Regions from separate parts of the Homo sapiens genome. Here all the other regions are linked to region 1. Evidence: promoter capture Hi-C in 16 types of primary human blood cells and fetal thymus (Javierre and others, 2016). All regions are on one chromosome and are shown on one strand. The core of a region is centred on a gene start or on the middle of the fragment in contact, and the rest is flanking DNA. Distances in the headings are between cores, read along the strand shown.

Region 1 (4,454 bases), core at 393-2,892:
CAGGCACAGAAAGACAAATATCATGTTCTCACTCATACGCAGGAGCTAAGATAGTTGATCTCATGAAGATACGATGTAGAATGATGGTTACCAGAGGCTGCGAAGGGAAGTAGGGAGTGAGGAATGAAGAGAGGTTGGTTAATGGGTACAAAAATACAGTTAGGTAGAAGGATTAAGTCCTAGTGTTCAATAGCACAGTATGGTTACAAGTGTTAGCAATAATTTATTAGCTATCAGAATAGCTAGAAGATTTCGAATATTTGCAACACAAAGAAATGATAAATGAGGCGGTGGATATTGTAATTACCCCGATTTGATCATGACACATTGTATGCATATATCAAAATATCACATGTACCCCACAAATATGTACATTATGTACCAAAAAAAAAAACTAAAATAAGCAGCAAAAACCACTTCCAGCTAGCATGGTGCTTACGAAATGCCTAAGCTCAGTTATCAGCCAATGAGAGGCATTATAAGATCACCACCATAAAATGGAGGAACTGATGAACTGCAGTTTTCATCTTTAAAAAAATTTTTTGTCCCATTTCCTGTCTTTAGAAACTAGCCTCTGGGCTGGATGGGATTCCCAGCTTCTCCTGTAAAATGCAAAATTGAGGGCTCAAATTGTGGTTTCAATTTACACGTTTCACAGTCCTCTGAGAAGAGACTAAGGTTGGAGGATGCAGGAAGGCCTTAAATAATTCACCTTTTGACTCAAGTGCTCTGAAGATTCCCCAAGCATTTTTGGAAACAGAACACTACCTGGTTGAGACTGGGTTCAAGTACACCACACAGCTACGTTCTGGTGGTGCTCAAGGGGCAAATGCTGTGCTAAATACAAGTCAAGACTGGATTTTAGTGTGGCAAGGCGCATTAACTCAGAGGAAAAAGTGAGGATTTACATCCCACCTGCTAATACTGTGGGTAAACGGATTTCTCTCTCTGAATCTTTAATAGTCACATTTATTTTAATAGAGATGGTTAAGTCGAAAGGATGGTTACGATGATTAAATGAGCCAATAATGAAAACAGCATGTTTTGTAATAATAGAAGCAGCTCACCTTTATTGAGTCCTGTATCATACTTTACATCTATTACCCTATTCAGTACCCAAAGGCCCCCATCATTTGCCAGATGCGCGTCGAGCCGCACTGGGACCACCTACAGACGCTGGACCAGAGCCCACGTCCCTGCGGCTTTGGAGCGCCGCGTCTGCAGCGGCCAGCGCGCCTCACATGGCGGCTCCGGTCACGTCACACAATGCGGCTGCTCCGGGCGCCCACTGCCCAGCACCGCAGGCCTCCTCTGGCCGCCCCTCAAGCAGGTCGCGCAAACGCCATTCCGGGCAGGGGCGCCAGCGCAGCCAGCCAACCTCCCCACCAGGCGGCTCCCACCCAGGGCCCTCCGCGGAGGCCGCTCCGGGGCCAGGAGGCGGCTTCCAGGCTCGAGACCCCGCCTCCCAGGCCCTGCCCGCCCGCAAAAGCCTTCGACACACCTGCAGGGTCTCGGCCTCTGCTCCCGGCCCGCGCCGGGCCCAGGCCCCGCCCTTTGCGGCCCAGCCCAGACCCGGAGGCACCGGAGTCCTCTCCCCACCCTAGGGCGTAAGACCAAAAAAACGCCAATGCCAGAAAGAAGACACTGCACATGCGCAGAACGTTTCCCTAGCCCTACTCCAGAACTACGCTTCCCAGAAGGCCCGGCTGCGACTCCATCTTGGATGACGTCGTGAGGCGCGGCCGCCTCCAGCGGCCTGAGTGATTGCTGTCGGGTTTCCGGGAGAGGGCGCTGTCCTTGCTCAGTGATGGCCGGAGAGCTGCACCCTGCACGTCTGGGCTTGAAGACAGAAATCCACCGTGAGGTGCTCCAAGGAACACTGATGGGCAGTTTTGTTAAAGTGATTGAACTCCGTGGGTACAGGAGTACGTGGAGTAATGAAGGATAATGCCCTGTAACCGCTTCCTCTTAGGAATGCTAGCTTTCACAATTGTGCAAACGGTACGCGAAACGTAATAAACTACAAAATATGTATAAGCTAAAACAGAAAACGAGTATACCACTTCCCAAAAGCAAAAGCGCTTAATGTTAGGTGAACATCCTTCTCATGAATTTACACAAATTTTAACCTAATGGTATAGAGTATCATGACTATCATTTCACTAAGGAATATATATAGTCATCCCTCCTTATCCTGGGGGTGCATATCTATGGATTCAACTAAGCTCAGAATGAAAATACTTAAAAATTCTATCTTACTGAACATGTACAAAGTTTCCCCCTTGTCATTATACCCTAAACAATACAATAAAACTATTTACATAGTATTTACATTGTGTTAGGTGTACAATTAATCTAGACATAATTTAAAATATACAGGAGGAGGTGTGTAGGTTATGCAAATATCAGGTTATTTTCTACCAGAGACTTGAACATCCCTGGATTTGAGTAATCCAGGGAGGTCCTGGTACTAATCCCCCGCGGATACAGAGAGAGGACTTGGCTGTATATGTAAAACAAATTATATATTTCCTGGTCAATAACTTTATTACATTAAAACATGTAGAATCATCTAGAAAAAAACGTATATATTGTCATGTGTATAAACACACATATATATACATATAAAAATATGCGCACATAATACACACACACACACCACCTTTCTGGATGGGAAGTATTGAGGAAATAATTTAAAATAAAGCCTCTTGCCAACCCAGAAAATTCTCTCCACAGATGGAGAAAAGAACAAAACAGTTACATTATTGAATAAACATTAAACCAGACTGCGATGTGCGTCACAGGCAACCCACTAATGAGTTTATGAAGACAGGAAGAACTATCATTTTTTGTATTAGCCGGTCTGGTACAACGCATTCTATTTCCTCAAGGTAAAAATAACTTGTCCTCAAGTAAGATGACTGTACAGCAACATTTGCTATGCATAATTCATCTGAAATTCACCTGATAATTAGGGTAGCCATCAGTGTTAGTTAATTGCCATTATGCAAATGAAAAGTAAAGTTTCTGGTATCTCTATGACACGCAGGTAGTTAACCGCGGGTAGCCAGGAGCCTAGGAGTTTACCACAGAGGCAGGGAGATGGGGTGCAATCTTCCTTGATGCTTACATTTCAAAGACATGACCCAAGGCCATTAAGAAAGACCTTCCTGGGTTGTTAAACTAGCAAGAAGCTTATTTACTTTTTAAAAAGTTTTGCTATATCTCACAGGGACAGAGAAGGGATTTACAATTACAAGTTTTCTTAAGGAAATGCTGTAAGAAAAGAGAGGAGTAAAGGTCTTTTTCCCTTTTTGCAAGAAGGAAAATTCAGTTGTTTTATTTTTTTCTTTGAGACAGAGTCTGGCTTTGTCACCCAGACTGGGATGCAGTGGCATGATCCCGGCTCACTGCAACCTCTGCCTCCCAGGTTCAAGGAATTCTCTGCTTCAGCCTCCTGAGTAGCTGGGATTACAGTCGCCCACCACCACGCCTGGCTAATTTTTTTTGTATTTTTAGTAGAGACGGGATTTCACCATCTTGGCCAAGGTGGTCTTGAGCTCCTGACTTCGTGATCCACCTGCCTCAGCCTCCCAAAGTGCTGGGATTACAGGCGTGAGCCACTGCGCCCAGCCCAAATTTTTATATTTATATTTACCCTTAGAGAAACTATAAAATTTAACACAATTTCAATCAAAATTTAAATTAAAAAATCTTAACGGGGAGCTTAGTTTTGTTTTACTTGATAAAATAATTTTTAACTTCCTCAGGAAACAACCTCAGGGAATAGCAAGGAACTGAAGACTAAACTCTGATTTTTTTTATCTTATCCAAATTTCTATCTAAGGGGTCTGAGGAGTTATGCCCTACAAACCATAAATTCATATCAGATGGGTTTTATTTAACCCCATAAAATGTGACTTACTTTCCAACCAGACTCTGGCATAACATTATGAGACAAGGAAGAAAATAAAAACATTTTACCCCAAAAACATGTTTGTCACATTTTGAAATGGCCCTGCAAGCCGTCCTTTGTGGGAAAATTTGCATCTCTAAATAATCTCTATTAACTAACATAGCTAGGCCTTTTCCTTCCAGGCCCTTCTAATTCTGAATAGATTGACTGAGAGTCTAGCACCTTTTAAAGGGTCTGAATAGGAAACATCTGTCATCTCTTGTTTTCAAGGATAGCCACTATGAGACTTCAAAAGAACTTTGGTCTCCACAACCTTTTATCTTAACCTGAACATTTCCTTTCTATTGATCCCAGCTCCTTAGACAAAAATTCAACCAATTGTCAACTAGAAAATGGTTAAATTTACCTGTAGCCTGGAAGCACCCCCACCCTTCAAGTTGTCCTGCCTTCCTGGAACAAACCAATGTATTCCTTAAATGTATTTGATTGATGTCTCATGCCCTCCTACAATGTATAAAATCAACCTGCACCCCCAACC
Region 2 (4,222 bases), core at 930-3,429, 5.6 Mb after region 1:
ATGGCCTTTGCTGGTAGTGTTAAAAAACATTTTTTTTCCCTTAAAACGCAGTCTGATATTTTATTCAAACAACTTCTGATGTGATGACCTGTTTAGTTAATGGAGAAAGAACAGCCTGAAGGAAGAAAACACGGGGTTTATTTCTGGCCTTCTGCTCTCTGAAACAAAGGACAAGGCACTTTCCTTCGGCTCTCTCAGAGTTAGCCGAGTTAGAGCTCTCCACCATAAAACGCCAGGACAGGGCAAAGAGGGGGCCGACCATCTCAAACACCATGGGATTCTAAGTGGGGGCTGACCATCTCAAATACCCTGGGAGTCTAAGGGTTAATTTTGAGGTAACCTCCTACAGATGGTTTTATGGGGACAACTGAAAACTCTCTTTAAAAAAGTACGACTTGGTAATTTAAAATTTACTGGAACAGTTAAATATGTAGACATGCTAGTGAAAGAGAACAAATCAACCTGAGTATAAAGGATGAATAACTCATTTTACCTACCCTAGAGACACTTATAGTGTATAGAGAGATATTTCACAATAAACCTTTGGATGTACAAAGATCAACAGAATAAAAAAGGAGTGAAACTCTCCTTTCACTAGGTCTGGAAGAGAGAAGGAAGCTTAGTTCTTAAAAAACACCACAGAGAGTTCTGATGCATAGCCTAGTTGAAAAGCATTTCTAGAGTGATTTTGTAACCACTGTGCTGCCATTTAACGAATTTCCTCGTTTTTGACTCATAGTTAATAAATTATCACTATTAATATGCATTTTTTTGTGTACAGGTAATATAATATGTTCATCAAGATGGTAAGCTCCTTGAAGAAAAGCACCGTGGTTTATCATTCTATCTGTTTTGCTGAGACCACTTAGCACTGGGATGAGTATGGAATAGCTTGGAATGACTTTCAATGTGAGTGAAATGTCTGGCAGGAAAAGGCAGGCTTTGAGAGGCTCCCCAGGAGGGCACAGCCCACTGCTCTGAGGAGTGGAATAAATTCTTGGAGGCAGGATGGGCCAGTGAAAACTCTCTGTGCAGACCCTGGTGACATCATCTGCTAGCTACATGTCCTTAGTATCTTAATGTCCCTACATCCATAGCTATAAAATACCGTACTGGGGGCCTGACAATAAAGAAAACAACACATGGCACAGGGACATTTCAGGGAGATGGCATTTTAGGAGAAATGGAACGCCAACTCACCCGGACCCTGGTCATTTCTTACTCCCAGAGGGGATGGATTCCTGGAAAGGCAGAGTTAGGGAAAGAGAAAAAGCCATGAAAATCAAGTCCAGCAAGACTGCGGGGAAAAAGTTACTCCGCTCCTGCCTCTGACGCTTCTTCAGTCACTTCCACCCACACTCCCTCCATCAGGTGAGAGGTGAAGCATTTTCTGTCACCACCTTCATCTCTCTCCACAGGGCTTTCGATTAAACAAGCCAAGTTTTCCCCCCAAAACCAAGAGGCTAGGTAAATTCCGCAGCCGCCGGCAGCTCGAAGCCGTGCCCATTTCCTCTGACTTTCCCGATCTCTGTCCTAAAGTTCTAGTTAAGAGGAGAAGCTTCTCGGGATGGATTTCGGTTGCCCAAGACGCCTTCCCCGACCTCATTCTCAGGAGCCTGGCTCGTTCCTGCGGTGCGGGGGCTCAGATGCAAGCTCTTTTCAGCGAAGGCAGTGCTGCGGACAGAAACCTCAGTCTCTTACAGGAGCCCCCGTCCGTCGCCTAACGTCCACCGAAAACCCCCCTGCAATAACGCCCGTCACAGGCGAGGAAAAGGCCGGCGTGGCCAACCACGAAGCCCCCAGCCGGCCCAGGCCAGAGCTCGGCCAGGAGGGAGGAGGGGCCATCGGAGGCGCGGCCGCTCAGCTGCAGGGCCCCACAGGCTTCGGTGTGGCCGCAGCCCGGCCCCGGGGGCGCAGCAGCTCGGAAATGCGGCGCCGGGACACACGTGCCGCCGCGGGCCGCGCCTCCGCTGGTCGCGTGCCCTACCATCGCCGCCCTCCCGGCTTCCGCAGCTCGGCGGCCCAGCGCCTTACCCGCGGCACACCCATTTCCTGACCCCTGAACGCCTCTGCCAGCGGCTGGGGAAGCCCGGCCAGTCTCACCTCCCACGTGGAACCCCACGCCTGCAGGGGCCAGATTCCGGATGCTGACCGCTCGCGCGCCTAGGGCCCCGAAATACAAGTCCCAGCAAGCCGCGGGCGAACCACGCCCACTTCCGGCGCGGGCCCCTGAACTCTGCGCTGTGCGGAGCGGGATTCTTGGGCGGAGGGGACCATCTTTGAGTCAGCGACGCGTGTATTCAAGTCCTCCTCCTCGTTTTTTATTACAAACAAATAAGAATTATTTTAGGAATACCTGTTAAGGTGATTTTCATTTGTTAAAATACTATTGGGGGAAAAGGATGTAAATACCCATAATTTCATCTTTACCTTTCAAAACATTCTGAAGTGAATATTTGCCATTCGGCATCTTCCATCTCACCTCTGAAGTTCATCCATTTAACAGATATTAATTGAGAGCCAACTGTGTACCAGGAGCTGTTCAAGATGCTTGCACAAAAGTCACTGCCCTATTCTAGTTGGGGAAACAAGCAATCCATAAATATAGTAAATATATGGCGTCGTGTGTGTCATGAGGTGGTACTGAAAGCATAGAGCTGGGCGGGGTGTGGCGAGGTGCGTTTGTGGGTGTGTAGGACTGGAGGTGTACTTTGCAATTTTAAATAGGGGATCTTGGAACAAACACAGGAGGTGAGGGAATTAGACAAGTGGCTCCCAGCAGTCAGAACTCTCCTAAACGCACACAAGGGTTGTTGATACCAGGATTTTACGTTTATTTCACTTCTCACCGAGTGACACAGAGCTACCCATTTGGTCTTTTCCCAATTCCTTTCTTTCAGATTTATTTTGGAGAGGAAAGAGATGTTGCCTGGACCTCTCTTCTACATCCTCCCCCTTCCTTGGTGTATTAGTTTCCAATTGCTGTCACAACAAATTAACACAAACTTAGTAGTATAACAAACATGTATTCTCTTAAACTTCTGGAGGTGCCAAGTCTGAAATCAAGTTTTACTGGGCTTTATAAAGTCAGTGTTGGTGGGGCTAGTTCCTCCTGGAGGTTCTAGATGAGAATATTTCTTTGCCTTTTCCAGTTCCCAGTGACTATTTGCATTCCTTGGCTTATGGCTCGCTCCTTTATCTTCAAAGTGCATGACTGCAACCTCTGCCTTCATCATCACATCACATGCTCAGGCACTGGCTCCTCGTGGGTCCTTCTAATAACGACTGTTGTGATTACATCAGGCCCAGCTGGCTAATCTGGGATAATCTCTTGACGTCAAGATCCTTAATTTAATCACATTTCAAAAAAAATCCCTCTTGCCATAGAAATTAACATCCACAGCTTCTGGGGGTTAGGACATGGACATATTTGGGGGACTATTATTTTCAGCCTGCGATGCTTGGAGAGGCCCACGTCCCCTTCGGTCTCCTCCTCAGAGATGCTGTCTTACCTTTTGCCTGGGGAACACAAAATGTCTCCCTTGGACCTTACTCCTCTCCTCATTCTTCATTGGAAAACCACAGAGCTTTTCCCTATTTAGATTTACCACCCTTGCCCTGACCTTCACTTCCTCATGTGCTCACTTCTCTCCTCACTCAATTTAAGAGGCCATGGAGCATGGTTATGGCCAGTCCTGTGTATGTGCCGTTACCCTTAACTCTCTTGTCCCAGTCTTTCTTGGTTTTATTCTCTTGATGGAAACCCAAATCTGCTTGAATCCAGTTCCTGGCCTGCGCCTGTACGGCAGAGGTTGTTTGAGAAAACCACATGGCTGGGATGATTGGTTTCATTTTCAGTTTATAACCATTAAGTTCAAGTGGGCCCTTCACGCTGCCTGGCTATCCTTCTACATTTCTTAGTCCATCCATTCTCCTAAATGACTATTTCACAGGTTCTACTCTCTTTTCATTATTTATTTATTTATTTTTTTGAGCCAGGCTGGAGTTCAGTAGTGCGATCTTGGCTGACTGCAATCTCTGCTTCCTGGGCACAAGCAACCCTCCCACCTCAGCCTCCTAAGTAGCTGGGACTATAGGCTTGCGCCACCACACCAGGCTAATTTTTGTATTTTTTTTTTTAAGAGATGAAGTTTCACCATGTTGTTCGGGCTGGTCTCCACCTCCTGGGATCAAGCGATCGTCCCACCTCAGCCTCCCAAAG
Region 3 (4,311 bases), core at 1,359-3,858, 5.7 Mb after region 1:
AACAGTTGTTGAGACATAAGTGAATGTAAGAAACCTAGATTGTTTGACATAATGTCAGTTACTAAAATATCACTGCAAAATGGGCCCAAAGGTACCAGGACCACACACAAATGAGTCTAGGAGGAAGCAGGATGTGGGAAAGCAGAGAACACATAAACATATATCTCTTCCTGCCAATCCCAAGTTAATAGTCACTCCTGTTTACACTTTGGTCTTGGCATGTAATTGGGATCTTCCATTTTGGTTCCCCACCTAACCACCTACTACTTTCTTCCCTCCAAGCCCCAGAGGAATTCAGAATCTAAGAAAACAACATTTCAGCCTTCATGATTGGTTGGAGCCAATCAGCTCTCCAGTTATCTGTAGTTACAAAGACTTAACAAGAGAGTCCATTTGTTACCACTGAACAATTCTTAGGAGGCTCCAGACCCAGACTCGCCTTTCTCTTGCTCTTGAAGATACAAGAATACCAGTTCTGACCAAGTGTAAACACTTGTCAATTCTTGGAAAAGAAAGACCTACTCTGGACTCCAAGCCCAAGGCACTCCAACTAGGTTAAGTAACTTGCCCAGAAACCCACAGAAAATAAGGAGTCAAAGTGGAGCAAAGGTTCAAATCCAAGACTTTCTGGATCCAAAATGTATGCTCTTACATTAGACAGTTGTCTAGTTCCTAATCACTAAAGAGCTGGTCAGAATGCTTATAAAATTGAACAGAAAGGAAGAGAGTTTGACCAGATTGAAGTGCTCTTTCAGATCCTAGGAATCCTCTTGTATGTGCTCTAAATTATTTTTTAATTTTTTTAAAATTCTGAGTCAAGATTTTGCTCTGTTGCCCAGGCTGGAGTACAGTGACTCAATTACAGCTTGCTGTGACTTTGAACTCCTGGACTCAACGGATCCTCCCACTTCAGCCTCCCAAATAACTAGGACTACAGGTAAGCACCACCAAGCCTGGCTAATTTTTAAAAATTATTTTAACTTTTTTTTGTAGAGATCGGGTCTCATTATCCTGCCCAGGCTGGTCTCCAACTCTTGGCCTGAAGTGACCCTCCTGCCTCGGCCTCCCAAGACATGTAGGCATGAGCTACTACACCTGGCCCACATGATCTATTTTTTAAAAAAAATATTTCTTCTTACTTCAGGATCCTAATTACTGAATTCTTATACTTTTAAGAAATGCAGTGGTTCAATGCATACTCCTTGTTTCCCTCTAATTTGTCCTATCAAAATGCTGGCCTTCTGATTTAATGAAATAATAGTATGATGCTACCATTCTTTGTTTTGTCAACCTAAGCACCTGGTTCTTCTTGACAACTGCACATTCTGCTACATGCTGTGATGACCAGGAGAATCATTTAAATTTTTATTTGGAGGACTCACTTCCAACTTGGAACACAAGCTGCAAAGGAATTCCCTACCAGCATGCCAGCACATCATTTGGAAGTTCAAGGTATTCTTGCTCAACAGCTGCACACACATTAAAAGTCCCTGGGGTACATGGCGCCTGCTGCCTGGGGTTGGACTCTGTCGCCGGGGATTCCAGAAATTAGAGTAGAATTCACAGCTCTGCCTCTCCACCTGCTGTGAGGTCTTCAAGTTACAACTCCGCCGCCTATCAGGGACCTCCGTGATTAGTAAGGGAGAAATTGTCATATTTTTCTCCCTAGATCACAGGTCTGAGGAAGCAGTTTCCCCAAGATTTTGTAAAAGTGGCTTTATAATTAAAAACATTGATTTTCCTATTAGAAAGGCTACTATATCCTTTGGAAAAAGCTTAGAAGTAGTCCGTGAGTCTTGGCTTCTTGCCGTGGCTCCCCCAGGATATGATCTTGGGCGAGTAACCCAGCAGCCCTGACTCTGCTTCCCCACTTATTAAACAGGTTACTAACACTGTCCTATCAGGTAGGACAATGAGAAGGAAAGAACCAAACAAGAGGAGTATCAGACGAGACCACCAGACTTAAGATCTAAAATCCGGCGTCCTCTGGAGGGCGGATGAGAAGAGGGGTACACTTGGCGGTCTGGAAAATGTCCTGGGGCCAGTTTCAGGTTTAGGAGCTTGTGGGTAGCGTGGTTTCCCACACGCTGCCTGGCTTCCTACTCTCCCCCGCAGGGGCTGCCTCTCCTCCCACCCCGGAAGGCCGGCACCGGCTTCCCGCACTCGCTGAAGCCCGCACGGAGGCCGGGTGAGCCTGCCGCGGCCTCCCCCTCCCACGCCCCGACGCCATGGGCCCTGCTCCTCTCCGCAGACGCTGCCCTCCCGCCTCAGGCCCCGGGCCCCGGGCACCGGGCCCGCCCTGCGTCCTGAACCTCGGCATCCCGCTCTCCGGTCCACGGGACCCTGCTCTGCGGACCGCCGACCTCTCCGCTCGCGGCTGGCCTCCCTCGGGGCCCGGGCCGGCCAGGCCTGCTCATTTCCTTGGCGGCCGCTGGCATAAGGCGGCCACACGGAGGGCCCGGGACAGCGGTCTGATGGCGCAGCCCCGCCTTGCCCCGGCGCTCTGACCCGGCCAGCGGCCTCACTCACCGCAGCGGCGCGTGCCCGCAGACAAAGGCCGGCGCCGAGCCCGCAGCAGCGCCAGCGCCGGCGCCGGCGGAATGGACTACAACTCCCAGGAGTCTCCCCGCGAGCCCGCCCGCCGGGCCGTGGGTCTCGGCGGCCCCGGCTTCCCAAGAGCTCTGTGGGAAATGTAGTTCTCTGGCGCGCCCTGCGCTCGGGCCCCGCAGGTCCCTAGGGCGCGGGGACCTCAAGCCGTCCCGTTTGGACTGGTAATCCGGAGACTCACAGCGGTGACCTGTCAGCGGACGCGGAGCCGGGACGGAGCCACGGCCGCTCAGATTAGCAGGATCTGATTGACAGCATCGGGGTAGCAGACGCTGAGCCAGGGACTCAGGAATACAGGGTTCTTGCAGGGCGTCGCGGAAGGAAACGAAGTTTTTGGGAGAAATCCGTTTGATAAAGCCTTGGCGGCTTCGAGGTCATGTGTTGAGCCTCTGGCTGCATGAACAAAAGCGAAGCCCGCTTTCATGGAGCTTCTGTGAAGAGCAACAGGAACACAGGCAGTCCAGTCGTCCTGAGATACTGGGAGGAGCATGGTTGCTTTTGAACACGTAGGAGATAAAGCCTCTCTAATAATGCCTGTTTTTTTTTTTCCTTCACTCTGTCTCCCAGGCTTGAGTGCAGTGGCACGGTGTCGCCTCACTGCAACCTCCGCCTTCTGGGCTCAAGTGATTCTCCTGCCCCAGCCTCCCAAGTAGCTGGGACTACAGGTCTGTGCCACCATGCCTGGCTAATTTTTTTGTATTTTTAGTAGAGATGAAGGTTTTACCATGTTGGCCAGGCTGTCTGATATGCCTTAAGCCTCTTTTAAACGCACTTTTCCAGGATCGGGGCCACATCCTGGAGCTGTTCTGCCTGGCCGGGTGTATCTCTGGGTCCCTGCCTCTGGAGCCCCTCTCCGTAGATGTGTCTGTCCATCCTCTTTCGTGAAGGACTAATAAAGAATGCTTCCTCTTGCTATGTTCTTGTTCTCTACCCCAAAGCCACAGATTTGTTAAATCAAACAACTTAATTTCACTCAATATGCAAAGGTGTCTGTAAGTAATAAGTTGATTCCTAAATGTTAGCTTTTACTATTGCACATCATTTCTGAATTTCATTCAACATTTATCCGTTGAATCCATTTTAAGTGCTGACACTGGGGATACGAATGTGAGCAAGACACACTCCGTGCTCCTAGGGAGGAGCTGACAGTCTGGTGGAGCAAACAAACACCACCTTCCTCACATGGGGGTCGGGGTGTTGCACAGCTAAGTCCCAGAGTGTGTGGTGCAAACTGTCCTGAAGCTCCCCATTCCTGAACTGCCCCAGGTGGCTCCTCTCCTCACTCCTCCCAAGTCTGAGAAAGGGGTGGAGGGCGGCACACAGCAAAGGCCAAGGCTCAGAGTCCTAAGGCTGCGGCCTCTGCTTCACACAAGGGTACATAGGTTCTGTTAAGGTCAAGACCGGCTGTGGACACTAGGACAAGTTTCAGATCCTGCCGTGAAGGTACATGACAAAGCATTGGTGGGAAAAGGTGGCTGTGAGGGGGGACCATCGTCACTTTTATAGATCTGCATAAATTCCCTTAAGGCGTCTCAGGAAAGTGGACACATTGAAGGGCCCAAAGCAGGGGAGAAAGCTGTTAGGATTGGGGTTGATGTGACCCCAGCCTCCATAGACAGACTGCCCAGCTGCAAAATGGGGCACATCCTCACCCACCACCTGCATCTTAAGGCAAATACTCAACAAAAGGGAGGGTGTGGGGTG

Evidence for each region. Contacts are between HindIII fragments. The CHiCAGO score rates a contact against its expected background, and 5 or more counts as called.
Region 2: a contact is called between the fragment with the promoter of ZNF239 here and the fragment with the promoter of ZNF25 in region 1, in 1 of 17 cell types (non-activated CD4 T cells). The highest score is 5.4, in non-activated CD4 T cells.
Region 3: the fragment with the promoter of ZNF32 here is called in contact with the fragment with the promoter of ZNF25 in region 1 in 3 of 17 cell types (total CD4 T cells, monocytes and non-activated CD4 T cells); the score reaches 7.6 in total CD4 T cells.

Annotation. Positions count from the first base shown.
Region 1 is chr10:37,975,005-37,979,458 of GRCh38, forward strand. It overlaps ZNF25 (zinc finger protein 25), which reads right to left and starts at 1,643. Exons shown (of 6, transcript NM_145011.4): 1 at 1,502-1,643. ZNF25-DT (ZNF25 divergent transcript) reads left to right here and starts at 1,751. Exons shown (of 6, transcript XR_930830.4): 1 at 1,751-2,001. RefSeq lists enhancers at 527-616, 1,657-1,886 and a silencer at 1,207-1,616. The HindIII fragment of the contact is 11,670 bases long and covers 1-3,192 here.
Region 2 is chr10:43,572,437-43,576,658 of GRCh38, forward strand. It overlaps ZNF239 (zinc finger protein 239), which reads right to left and starts at 2,180. Exons shown (of 4, transcript NM_001099282.2): 1 at 2,104-2,180; 2 at 1,201-1,241. RefSeq lists a silencer at 1,903-1,962. The HindIII fragment of the contact is 4,716 bases long and covers 1,557-4,222 here.
Region 3 is chr10:43,646,273-43,650,583 of GRCh38, forward strand. ZNF32 (zinc finger protein 32) reads right to left here and starts at 2,609. Exons shown (of 3, transcript NM_006973.3): 1 at 2,530-2,609. All of the region lies in intron 1 of ZNF32-AS3 (ZNF32 antisense RNA 3), which reads left to right. It overlaps ZNF32-AS2 (ZNF32 antisense RNA 2), which reads left to right. Exons shown (of 3, transcript NR_047558.1): 1 at 1-25; 2 at 840-937; 3 at 1,297-1,747. RefSeq lists an enhancer at 1-563 and a silencer at 2,115-2,634. The HindIII fragment of the contact is 4,172 bases long and covers 1,774-4,311 here.